2 separate regions of the Homo sapiens genome follow, and region 2 is linked to region 1. Evidence: promoter capture Hi-C in 16 types of primary human blood cells and fetal thymus (Javierre and others, 2016). All regions are on one chromosome and are shown on one strand. Each heading gives the region's core, a stretch centred on a gene start or on the middle of the fragment in contact. The rest is flanking DNA. Distances are from core to core; before and after follow the strand shown.

Evidence for each region. The method cuts DNA at HindIII sites, captures the fragments that hold promoters and counts their contacts. A CHiCAGO score of 5 or more calls a contact.
Region 2: a contact is called between a fragment that was not itself captured here and the fragment with the promoter of THAP12 in region 1, in 1 of 17 cell types (non-activated CD4 T cells). The highest score is 7.1, in non-activated CD4 T cells.

What each region holds. Positions count from the first base shown.
Region 1 is chr11:76,376,129-76,382,410 of GRCh38, forward strand. THAP12 (THAP domain containing 12) reads right to left here and starts at 5,004. Exons shown (of 5, transcript NM_004705.4): 1 at 4,620-5,004. The coding sequence starts at 4,708. GVQW3 (GVQW motif containing 3) reads left to right here and starts at 5,195. Exons shown (of 2, transcript NM_001347885.2): 1 at 5,195-6,165. The coding sequence starts at 5,701. RefSeq lists an enhancer at 4,209-4,710 and a silencer at 4,353-5,282. The HindIII fragment of the contact is 4,414 bases long and covers 1,379-5,792 here.
Region 2 is chr11:73,590,392-73,597,477 of GRCh38, forward strand. The region is part of intron 1 of FAM168A (family with sequence similarity 168 member A); the gene reads right to left. Among named protein-coding and RNA genes, the nearest start is that of FAM168A, 4.2 kb to the right of the region's middle. RefSeq lists an enhancer at 7,055-7,086. The HindIII fragment of the contact is 158 bases long and covers 4,886-5,043 here.

The DNA.
Region 1 (6,282 bases), core at 3,754-6,253:
GGAGAAGGTTGCACAACACTGTGAATGTAATTAACGCCACTGAATTGCACACTTAAAGGTTAAATTAGCAAATTCTGTTGTATTTTACCAAAATTTTAAAAATTAATGTATATACCCCAAATCGTACACTTTACATGGGTGAATTATATGTGAATTGCATCTCAATAAACATCTTTTTAAAAAGAAATTCATGATTTGGTCTTGAAGCATTCAAAGGAGTCTAACGTTGAAAAGGGCAGAGACTTCGTGTGATCCTGGGAACAAAACTAGGACCTCCAAGGCCTCAATTACAGGAGGCAGATGTCCACTCAATACAAGGAAGAAACAACAGCCAAAGCGTCCAGAATCATCACGTGTCTTCTCACAAAGGGGAGGACTATCATTAGAGGTGTTTTAGCAAGGGCAAAGATGCCCATCTGTCAGGAATGCACAGGGCCTATAAAGGCCCATAAACATCTTTGTCTTCGAATGCTAAATTGTGTCTATGTTTTTTTTGTTTTTTTTTTTTTTTCAGGTAAGAGTCCTTATGCTAGATTCTCAAAAGGGATAATAACCCTAAAAATGATAAAAGTCACTATTATTGAGAAAATTCCAGTATTTCAAGTGAGATTTCACTAGATCTAAACACTTCTTTCAAATCTGAAACTGTAAACCCCTATAGACTATACTCCCCTTAAGGAGTGTAGTCAAAACAGGATTCACTACATATTAATACAAATGACCTGTGGTCCAGAACTGACTAGGGGTGCCCTCATTATGGAAGTGAAATAAACCTGTAAGAATGTCTTTGGGCTAAAATTTGGGTAAAAGGAAGATAACGCATAATGGGGCAAGGCCAAGTCAGACTAAGATGCTCCTCTCCTCTGTTCCCAACTGCTACTCCTCACTGTACTGAGCGAGTTCTTTCCCATGTCTCGGAACTTAAAACACTGGGAATGCCCCAGGACTCAATCCTCAGATCTGTTCTTTGCTCACTCCTTAGATAACCTTAACCCGTACCACGGTTTTAAATACCCTCTATAAACTGAGAACACCCATATTTACAATTTCCGGTTTGAAAGTCTCTGAATTTCAGACTTGTATATCCTATTCTCTCTTCAAGACATCTATTTTCTTTGAGGTGAAATTCTCATAACATAAAACTAACCATTTTAAAGTAAAAAACTAATGGCAATTAACACATTCATCATGTTCTGCAACCATCACCACTACCTAATTCTAAAACATTTTCATCACCTCAAAAGGAAACCTTGTAACCATTAATCAGTTGCTCCCCACTCTCCCTTTCGCCCAGCCCCAGGCAACCACTGATATGCTTTCTATCTCTATGGATTTACTTATTCTGGATATTTAATATAATAGAATCATACAACATATAAGCTTTTGTATCTGACTTCTTTCACTTAGCATAATGTTTCTGAGGTTCACCCATACTGTAGTATGTACTGGCACTTCATTCCTTTTCATGGCTAATATTTCATTGTATTGATATACATTTTGTTTATCCATTCAAGCACTGATAAACGTGGCTTGTTTCTACCTTTTGACTATTGCGAATAGTGCTGCTATGAATGTGTGTACATTTGGTTTTTTTGAATATCAGTTTGCAATTCTTTGGATATACGCCTAGGAATGGAATTGCTGGGACACACAGTAATTCTACATCTAACTGCCACTTGTGGTTTTGATTTGAACTTCTCTAATAACGAGTGATGCTCAGCATCTTTTCATGTGCTTTTTAGCCATTTATATCTTCTGTTTAAAGAAAGAAGTCCTTTGCCTATTTTAAAATTGGGTTGTCTTTTTGTTGCTGAATTGTAAGAGTTCTTTATATATTCTGGATACTGGACCCAGATCAAATGTATTATTTGCAAGTACCTTCTTCCATTCTTTTCACTTTCTTGGTAATGTTCTTTGATACACAAAAGTTTAATTTTGATGAAGTCCAATTAGTCTATTTTTCTTTTTACTGCATGTATTTTGGTGTCATATCTAAGAATGTGGTGCCAGCCAAGCACGGTGGCTTACACCTGTAATCCCAGCACTTTGGGAGGCCAAGGCGGGCAGATCACCTGAGATCAGGAGTTCGAGACCAGCCTGGCCAACATGGCGAAACCCCGTCTTGACTAAAAAAAAATACAAAAATTAGCCAGGCATGGTGGCGGATGCCTGCAATCCCAGCTACCTGGGAGGCTGAGTGAGTAGAATAGTTTGTGAACATCGGTGGCAGAGGTTGCAGTGAGCTGAGACTGTGCCACTGCACTGCAGCCTGGGCAACAGAGTGAGACTCTCAAAAAAAACAAAAAACAAACAAGAATGTGCTGCCAAATCTAAAGTCATGAAGATTTATCTGTATTTTTTTCCTAAAAGTTTAATGACATAGCTCTTATATTTAGGCCTTTGATCTCAATAAAAGTATAGGCCATTTGGAGTTCATTTCTGTATATGGTATGAAGAAAGACATCTATTCTTTTTTTTTTTTCATCTATTCTTTCTTTCTTGAGACGGAGTCTTGTTCTGTCACCCTGACTGGAGTGCAGTGGCACGATCTCGGCTCACTGCAACCTCTGCCTCCTGGGTTCAAGCGATTCTCACGTCTTGGCCTCCTGAGTAGCTGGACAGGCACGCACCACTGGGCTCAGCTAATTTTTGTATTTTTTAATAGAGACAGGGTTTCCCTATGTTGGCCAGGCTGGTCTCGAACTCCTGACCTCAAGTGATCCGCCTGCTTAGGCCTCCCAAAGTGCTGGGATTACAGGTGTGAGCCACCATGCCCGGCCTAGACATCTATTCTTGAATGTCTATCAGGTCTCTCAAACCCAAACTTCTAGTATTCCTCTACCAAACCTGCTCTTCCCAGTCTTCCCTATCTCAGCAAATGCTCACGTTAAAAATCTTGAAGTCGGCTGGGCGCGGTGGCTCAGAGCCTGTTCTAGCACTTTGGGAGACCGACACAGGAGGACTGCTTGAAGCCAGGAGTTCAAGACCAACCTGGCCAACATAGATTTTTAAAATCTTGAAGTCGTCCTTAAGTTCTCTTTTTCTTTTACAATCTACCTCCAAACCATTAGCAAATGATGTTGGCTTCACCTTCAAACCATATCTCAAATTTACCATCTCCTCCTCTATTAATCTGGATTATTACAACAGCCTTTTAACTGGTCTTCCGGCTTTCACCTTTGCCTCCCCACAATCTAATGAGCAGCCACTGATCCTGTTAAAATTTAAGTCTCTGCTCTAAACCCTTCAATGACTTCCTATTTCACTCATAATAAAAACCATAGTGCCTTCCAAGACCTACAAGGTCCTACCTAAAGAATTTGCCCCTACCATACACACACCTTTCTGGTCTCATCTCACCTCTCTCCCAGTCCCTCTCCCTGGACTCCTGGTTGCCCTGTCTTTGCCTTCTTTGGAATGCTGCTGCCCAAGGTATCTCCATGGCTGGCCCCTTCACCTGGTCTTTGCTCAAATTCACCTTCTTAGTGAGGCCTTCTCTAATCACTGTATTTAAAATAGCAATTGTGCGTCCCTTGATACTACTTATTCCCCTACCCTCTAACCTTTGTTTATTTTTCTCCACAGTATTTATCATCATCCGACACACTACGTATTTTACTTGTTTATTCCCCCCCCATTAGAATGTAATCTTCATGAAAGCAAGGACTTCGATTTGTTCATCTGTAACCCCCACTGCTCACAACAATGCCAACACAAGTAGACCTTCAATAATTAATTGAACTAATTAATAAATAACATAAATTATAGTCGCCCGTTGCTGCACCTGTTCCCTTACTGGACTGAGAGCTTTCTGCAAGCAGTGACACCCTTATTCACCCATGAACTCCCAGCACCTAACATTTGCGCTCGGCACATAGTAGGCATTGATTTTAAATGAATGAACCAACAAGACAGGCCTATGAAACATCTCAGCCTTTCAAACACAGTCCCTATGCTATCATTCCCTAAATATGTCAGTGTGTGGGGGTTATCCGAAGGAAGAGGTTCCAATACCAATTTCCACGCCCTCACGCGTACACCCTCTGTTATCCCTACAATACCCAAGCGAGAAAATGAGTAACGGTGACAGCCAGAAAATGAATCCTGAACCGTGCAATGACAAGTCCGAAGGAGAAAGCAGTTGCGATGAGATGAAAGAAGGTAGCGGGACTCAAAACAGAAACACTGTCCCGGGGGTGGTGGCAAGGAGAGGGAAAGGCCCCAGTGGCCACAACCATAGAGTCCTGCTCTCTTTTGACAGCTAAGGAAACTAACGCCCAGAGAGGAAAGCGACTCCCCCGAGGTCACACAGCAAGTGAGCCACGGCGAGAACCCACAGCATCCCGCGTCCGCGCGCCGCCCCAGCTCCCTCGCGTTTGGGGTGGTGTCCTCCGCGCAGAGCCCCCACCAGCGCACGTGCTCCGAGGTCCCCGGACGCCCGCCCGCCCACGGCTCGGGGCCGGCTCCCCATCTCGGTCCAACGCTGGGGTCGACGGCAGTGCGCTGCGCCCGCCTCCTGCGCCCCTCTCAGCCAGCCCGGGAGCCCGCCAGGGGCCGGCGGCTGGCAGCGCTCACCGCGAAGGTGGGCCCGGGCCGCCCGCTCTGCGCCCGCCGCTTACCTGGCAGGGTCCCGCGGGAACCTGAAGAAGGCCAAGTCGGACTGCGTGCTCTTCCGCGTGCAGTTGGGGGCAGCGCAGAAGTTCGGCATCGTCGCCCGCCCGCCGGCCGGCCCAGCCCTCCCCTCCCCGCCTCCTCAGGGCAGTCCGCCCGCCCGTCGGGGCCGGGGAGGGGAGCCAGGCCGGCCGGCCGGCTCGGCAGGGCCGACGCGCGGGGGAGGGGCGGGCGGGCTAGAAGCCGCGAGGGCCAGGAGGGGTGCCGCGGTCCGAGGCCGGGCTGGGGACGCGGCTCCACAGTGCTGTGAGCGGCCGGGAGGATTTACCGCCGCCGCCGCCGCTGGTGCACCTCCCGCCCGCCCGAGACGCTGCCGCCTCCTTCCCACAATGCACCCTGACGCCCGGGGGTGCCCTCTCTTCCCTCAGCCTTCCTCCCCCGCCCCTCCTTTCCGCCTTCTCAGCAGGCGGGCACGCGCAAGGAAGCGCGCCTGCCGGGGTGTGGCGAGGCGGAGGCGGGACCTGGCGCGCGCCGCCGCAGTGCGACTGCGCACAGTCTAATCCGCGGGGAGAGAGAATTGCGCATGCGCGCCTGTCTCCCGGGACGCTAGAGCAGGCGGTTCCTGGGCTGCTCCGGTAGGTTTGGCGTGCGCGGGTTTCTGCAGATCTAGGGCGAGCTTGCACGTTACATCACCGATGCATCTCTTCTTGCTTGCTTAATTTGCCACCACTTAGGCCTTTCTTGCAGAATTCGCCATATACTCCTTAAGGGCCGCGGAATCGGAGCGACCTTGGTGACTGGCAAACTCTCGGCAGATGTGCGTGCACTGGTTTGATGCAGACGTGGTTGTAGGCGATTTAATTTTTCCCAGCTTTGCAGCGACTGTTGGCTTCCCAGAACGGATCTCCCCAGCCTCGACTGGAAGCTGAGGGACAAAAATTCATAAAAGCAATTACTCTTTCCCGGCGAGGCTTCTAGAAGAGCAAGAAGAGCGATATGATTACACCTGCAGCCCTATAAAGATTGATCTGTCCGTCTTTCCCTTACAGTCGTGGCCTGTTAAACGTTCCTGTGTTGTTCAGTGCCAGAATGAGTGACCGCTATTTAGAACAAAGGATTAGTATCAAATTTTGCGTGAAATTGAACAAGTCTGCAAGTGAGACCCACCATCTTTTAAAAGAAGCTTATGGGGATGAAGTCATGTCAAGGGCCAGAGTTTTTGACTGGCACAAAAGGTTTAAAGAAGGACGGGAAGATGTTCGAGATGATGCCCGAAGTGGGCGTCCAGTCACCCACCGAACAGATGACAATATCCAGAAGGTCAAGGACTTGGTTTGTTCAAACAGGCAGTTAACCGTGAGGATGATGGCTGAAGAGTTAAATTTAGACAAAGAAACTGTTAGGCTCATTTTGAAAGAAAACTTGAACATGAGGAAGATTTCTGCAAAAGTTATTTCGGGTGTTTTGAAGGGTGAGCCTAAACCACGAAAACTTGACTTTCGGTCCGATCTTTCAAAGGAAACTAGGAAAAATAGCTCATGTTTGAGGAAAAAGGTAACAGGTTCTGAAACATGGAGTTATCTCCAGGGTGAAGCTGGTGGGGAAATGCCCCTGCCGGTATCCCATCCCAGAGTCCACTACTCTGCCAGTCAGCTTCTGCAGGCGTCATCT
Region 2 (7,086 bases), core at 3,715-6,214, 2.8 Mb before region 1:
AATAAATATGAATGTGAAGACACCAAAATGTTTGAGAAACTGTTGCTACATAGCAATAAGCAAGAACACACTACACCTACATACAAGAATAAATGAGTCTCACAAATATATTATATATGAAAAGCCAGTCACACCTATGAAACGTCATAAACAGGCAAAAATAATCTACATTATTAGAAGTTGTTGGTTTCCTTGGAGGAGGAGATAATGTTCCCTTTCTTGATCCGAATGCTGGTTATACATTTTGTGCATTTTTTTCTACATGTTATACATACCTCAATATAATTTATTTTTAATTTATATTTTCCATATAAATATACACACATCTGCCTTATGCTCACCTACAGAAGTTTTGTTAACACTGGTCGAGAGTAGAACTGACACATATCTTTTTTTTTTAAACAGCTCCTCGGGTGATTCTAAAGAGTAGCCAGATACTACCTGTCTAAATAGGTTGAAGACTACTGATTAGGCTGGGTGCAGGCTCACGCCTGTAATCCCAGCACTTTGGGAGGCCGAGGCAGGCAGATCATCTGAGGTCAGGGGTTCAAGACCAGCCTGGCCAACATGGTGAAATCCCATCTCTACCAAAAATACAAACAATTAGCCGGGCATGGTGGCACGGGCCTGTGGTCCTAGCTACTCAAGAGGCTAAGGTAGAAGAATCACTTGAACCTGGGAGGAAGAGTTTGCAGTGAGCAGAGATCGTGCCACTGTACTCCAGGCCGGGAGACAAAGCGAGACTCTGTCTCAAAAAAAAAAAGAAGACTACTGATTTAACAGCTTAAAACCAGGAAGATTTATATGCAGTACAACAAAAAGAACAATGGCTCTGGAGCAAGGCAGATCAGGTTTTTAAATACGAGCTTTTCTTCTCTTACTAGCTATGTAAACAAATGCAAACTAGTTAATCACTATATGCCTCAGTTGCTTCAGTTTCTTCTTCTGTAAAATGATCACAATTCCTTATACGACACAAATATGAGGATTAAATTCTATCTATAAGGAAAAGAAAGCACCCAGCATACTGCCTGCCATAGACACTCAAATGTTAGGTACCTTTTGTCTTTCCCTGCTAATTCCCTACTTGTCTTATGGCCTAAGACAAATTACCCTCTTGAATCTTTTTATTCATTTATTTATTGAGATATAGTCTTGCCCAAGCTAGAGAGCAGAGGTATGATCATAGCTCACTGTAGCCTCAAATTCCTGGGCTCAAGTGATCCTCCCACCTCAGCCTCCAAAATAGCTATGAACAGAGGTGCACGCCACCACATCCAGATAATATTTTTGTTTTTTGTAGAGACTGGATCTCACTATGTTGATCAGATTGGTCTTGAACTCCTGGGCTCAAGCGATCTTCCCACCTTGGCCTCCCAAAATCCTGGGATTACAGGTGTGAGCCACTGCACCCAGCTACCCTCTTAGAGTCTTAATTTCTTCATCCTTAAAATGAAAATAATGCCACATGACCAACCTAAGAACTATATATAAAATGGCGCCATTATATTTGCATAAGTATAAATAGCATAGCTGTTATCTACTGATAGAGACATTTGCTATCAACTCAAAATAAAAGATAGAGGAAGACACATTAGAAAACTAAAATACTTAGAAAAATTATAAAACAGAGGCTAGAAAAGAAATACAAGTTAGCAGAAATCGTCAAGCTTGAGCGACATGATCAGAAGGCAAATCAAGATCATAATCTCAAGTAGCCAAGGATTGAAGTTTACTGTGAAAAATATATCATCTCAGGGTTCCTTCAAAATGTCTATATCTAAGAAAAAGCACAACCTATATCATCATAAAATAGGCATATTCTGAAAGGACCCAGACACCTGCCTAACTGGCAGGAGGAGGAGGTGTATTGGAACTTTATAAACTGAGGTTTTCTCAGAGTGTCTTCATACAGAAAATAATGGCTCATTTAATAAAATGTTAAACTTTTAGATAAACATAATTTGACAAAAAAATTCTATACCATTGTTTTCAATACTAAAGATATGCATAACTGTCCAAGGAAGTAAATTTAACAAAATAGAGAAAGAAATATGAACTTGGTTTAGTCTCTTTCCTCTTCAATATTTTACAACTTTGAGTTGATTTCTGTTAACGTACCAGGGGTCGGCCAGCTATGGCCCGCCCATGGCCTATTTTTGTATGGCCTGTGAGTTTTACATTCTTAAAACCACATAAAAGGAGGAGAAAGAGAAGGGGAGGGAGAAGAAGGAATGGGGAGAAGCAAGAGGAGGGGCTTCAGGAAGGAGAAGAACGGGGAGGGAGATGGGGAGACAAAAAGGAAGGGGAGTGGAAGGGAGGAGAAAGAACAACAGAGGCCATATGTGGCACAAAATATTTTCTACAAAAAGCATTTGCCAGCCAGGCATGGTGCCACATGCCTGCATTTGTAAGCACTTTGGGAGGCCGAGGAAGGAGGATCACTTGACCAGGACAACATAGCGAGACCCTGTCTCTACCAAAAAAAAAAAAAAGTGTTACTGGGTAATAGGACTAAAAACAATACTTATGCTTCTTTTTACTTTTTGTAATTTCTAGTTTTTATCATGAGCACACATTATTTAATGGTGGAAGAAATAAAGCTTTTTTAAAAGTTAAAAAATAAGAATAAGAATAAAGCAAGTCAGAAGAATATTTATCCTATAATTCTATTTATAAAAAGTTGCAAAGGTAAAAAATATACTGTTTAGGGATATGCACATATTTGGTAAAAGTATAAAGAAAAGCAAAGAAATGATTCACATAAAATTTAGGAAACTGTTTATCTCTGAGGGAGAGAGAAGATGGGAGATTCAATCAAGTAGGACCTCACAAGAGGCTTTAAAGGTACTAGAAATCTCCTTTTTGTTAAGCTGGGTAGCAAGTAGAAAAGCCTTCAATTTGTTATTCTTTAAGTTGTGGGTTTATGTTAAATATACTTTTATACATATGACATATTTTACAATTTAAAAAAAGGATATAAATGGGGATGACAAATTAGAATTTGGGGGCTGTAACCCAGACTTTTCCACTGACTGTGTAACCTTAAACAAGTCATTTAACCTCTCAGAGCATAATTTTTCTTCTTATTTTATTAATGAGGAAGCTAACAGCTAACATCTGTTTAGGACTTTGGCATTTAAAGAACTGTTTAAAGTTCCTAGACTGTAAACATGCAAATATGCATGAGATCATAAAACAAAATCATACCTCATTAATAAATACCACAATACTAAGAACTCATTGGTAGGGCACACAAGGCTATTCACCATTCTAGCCTCTGCCTATCTTTCTAACAATAAAGGCAACAACTAATTTTTTTAATGTGTACTATAAAACATATTGTGTGAAATGCTTTCCATTGATTATCTTATTTAATCCTCAAAACAATCCTATGATGTTAATTCTATTATTCGCACTTTACAGATGAGCCCATTGTGCCCAACGTCACACAGCTAATAGTAAGTGGTAGACAGACTTCAAAACCCACATTTAACCATAGCATTCATTTTGCCTCACTTTTCTCACCGTATTTGTCTATCTTTCCCATGACACTGAAAGCTCCTTGACAACTGCTTTCTGTTCATTTTTATTTCCCCTGGCACTTAGCAGACATTCATTAAATAAATAAATAGTGAACAGATATTTCATATATGTACAGTGTTTTCAGGACATGAACTGGTTTGTTCCCCTTGACAGCCTTGTGAAGTATGAAAGTTTGATTGTGTGACAGGGTCTCATTCTGTAACCCAGACTGCAGTGCAGGGAAGCACGATCATGGCTCACTGCAGCCTTGACCTCCCTGGCTCAAGCAATCCTCCCACCTCCCTCCTGAGTATCTGGGATTACAGGTATACGCTACCACACCCAGCAAATTTTTTTTTTTTTTTGTGGAGACGGGTCTCCCTATGTTGCCCTCACTGGTCTCGAACTCCTAGGCTCAAGCAATACTCCCAGCTCAGCCTCCCAAAGTCTGGGATTATGGGCGTGAGCCACTATGCCTGGCCAGTTTTTTTGGTTTTTGAGGTTTTTTTGTGTGTGTATTTTTACCTTTTTAACCAAAGTTAAGTGTACAATTCAGTGGTATTAACTATGTTCACAATGTTTTGCAGCCATTACCACTAAATATGAAAGGTTTTTTGTTTGTTTTTTGTTTGTTTGTTTTGAGACAGAGTTTCGCTCTTGTTGCCTATGCTGGAGTGCAATGGCGCAATCGTGGCTCACTGCCCACCTCCCCAGTTCTAGCAATTCTCCTGCCTCAGCCTCCCAAGTAGCTGGGATTACAGGCACGTGCTACCAGCTAATTTTTGTATTTGTAGTAGAGATGGGGTTTTGCCATGTTGGCCAGGCTGATCTCAAACTCCTGACCTCAAGTGATCCACCCACCTCGGCCTCCCAAAGTGCTGGGACTACTGGCGTGAGCCACCACGCCTGGCCATCTGAAAGGTTTTTAATGACTTGACTGAAATCACTCAGCTTTCAAGTAGTAGAACTGGGATTTGAATCTGGGACTCAACTCCTAAACTCATGGGCTATTCGTTCCACAAAGGCTTCTGTCTATCAATACCTCCATCTGCTCTCTTCTCACCAAGATATCGGGAGGATCAAATGAGGTAAAGATACAAAAACACATTACTACTACACAGGTAACCACGGCTGTGGAAAAAAAAAATCCACCAACACATTTCTCCCAGGCACTTTTCATTTTGGGCTTTCAAAAGCTAGGGCTTTAATATAAACATCCCACCTCTAGACCAAGCCTGCAGATCTGCAAAAACAACGTCTAGACCTCAGAGTAAAGTTATGAGAGAAATGCTCACATTAGATTACAGTCTCACTGAATTACAGGTAACTGCTCAAACCTGATCTTTATTATAATACAGAAAGCTTCCTCATTACAAAACACTTTCAATTCAAAGGATAAGTCCAACGTTCCATCATTCTGCCCATTTTGGAGCTAAAAAAAAAAGATTCTAAATGGTATTTTTATATGCTCAATCGTGAAAGCCAAGGAAAATGGTTTGTTTGCGAGCTAAATTCTGAAGCTTGAACAAAAATAAAAAGAATTATTTCGATCCCAATGGTGCCAATTTTATCTTCTTTACATCCCTCCTCATTTTTTTTCAGTCTGAGCTCTAATCAACAGCCACTTTATGTTTAACATATTATCACAGTTAATGCAATTAGGTCCATAGAACTGTTTCTCTAAAGATGTTCCCTCCATTTGCACTCCTGTGTACCTTCCATTATCATCGTTCTGCCCTAAGAATGAGCATATCGCTAAGGTTTAAATCGAATTTCTGATGAATAGGTGGAGATGCTGTTTCTGTAGTTAATACAATGCGACTACATCAACATCATTCCCCAAAAAATAAAATAAAAATGACTCAATATGCTTTATTTATTCACATCTGACAGAATTCTGATCACCTGAATTCCTTTGGAAGAAAATTCAATCTTTAGAAATACAGTCCAATTATTCTAAATCTTATCAATGTCAAAAGACAATCATATGAAAAACTCCATCAGTACCAAACCATCTCACCAATGAATATTTATGACATTTCCATATTTCCTGTCTTCTCTGTTTACATAAAGCGGTGGTGCCAAGACTCATCTCAGGATTATTAGCCTGCAATACAATGATGGGCCTAATTGCCTTGCAAACCAGGACACTAACAAATGGCGTCTTCAAGCAATCAATTTAAAGAGGGGGTAAAAAAGGCCCAAGCTCTTTTTGCCTATGTGCTTGTTACCTACCTACAAAATAAATTCAGTCTCATATTTTTCAGGCTCACTCATTAGTTCTCAAGCAAGGAATGCACCCTTAACAATCTCAAGCTCATCAAATCTATTTAAATTTCAAAATGCCTGGCTAGTTTTTAAATACACCAGGAGGAGAGGGGAAAAGAAAAGGCAGAGACATCATATAGAAAGATATCCATTACATTCCAGTTTATCTTCTCCCACCTTTAGTTTGGAAGTATGCTTTTTTCCCCCAACTTACTTTTTATGATATACAAATAACAGAAGACACCCTCCCCTCCTTAATTCTACCTTAACTAAATCCCCTTTCAACTTTACCCTTTGGGCTGACTTGACTTCCAAATTTTACTAATATAAATAAAACAAACAAAAACATCACCCGAACAGATTAAAATGGCCCCTAAGAATGAGAAGGTCTCTTCCGTGTCCCCTGCAAAGTCCCCTCTAACAGCCTTACTGCCTCTCACCCAACCACAGCCACCAAGGCTGTTCATTTAAGTATTCCAACCCTTAACCCTCATGTGTCTCTTGGAGGCCACCCCAATCCTTCACCACCAAAATAATCCAACCCAATTCCCCCCTGCTCTCCAGCACAGCTCACTGTCCCTCTCCATCCTCTCTGCCCCATCCATACCAACAGCTCCAGGTCTCCCATTCCTTAAATTTCCCCTGTGCCACCTCACCATCAGCAACCACCTCCCCAGGCCTACCAGCTCATCTCCGAAAGTCCTTCTCCAAAACTCCCTCTGCCACCTTGGCCAAGGGATATTTTCTTCAAGATACCATCCCCCAACTTTGCTCACCCCTGCCGCTATCCTTTCAATGAAAGCAGCCCAGTGATGTTTTATGTGCCCTCTGCCTTGACTCTGCAACCAAGGAGCCACCATGCCCTTTCCAGTGATTGTAAGATCACCCTAAATCCAACCCACTGTGCCCCACACTCCATTTCCATCCCTGTCCTCCCATTTCGGGCCTGACTTCCAATGTGGCCCCTTCCTGCCAGCTCACCATCACACTCCCCTCACTGAATGTCCCACCTCCACCAACTCCTATTCCAACCTCCATCAGCCCACCCCAGGAAACCCCCAAATTGCACTCTTCTGCTCTATCCTAACCCATGCTATTCCATAAGTCTCCACAAATTCCACCAGCCCCAGATGACAAACACCCACTTCAAGCTTGGGTCTCAACCCATGCCAAGCCCCTCACCCCCAACTCCTGCCACCTCCATCATCCTGCCCCAGGTCCACCCCAAATTCCACCCTTCTGAATTAACACTACGCAGGGCCCTAACCAACCCTGTACATGCCACTCACTCTC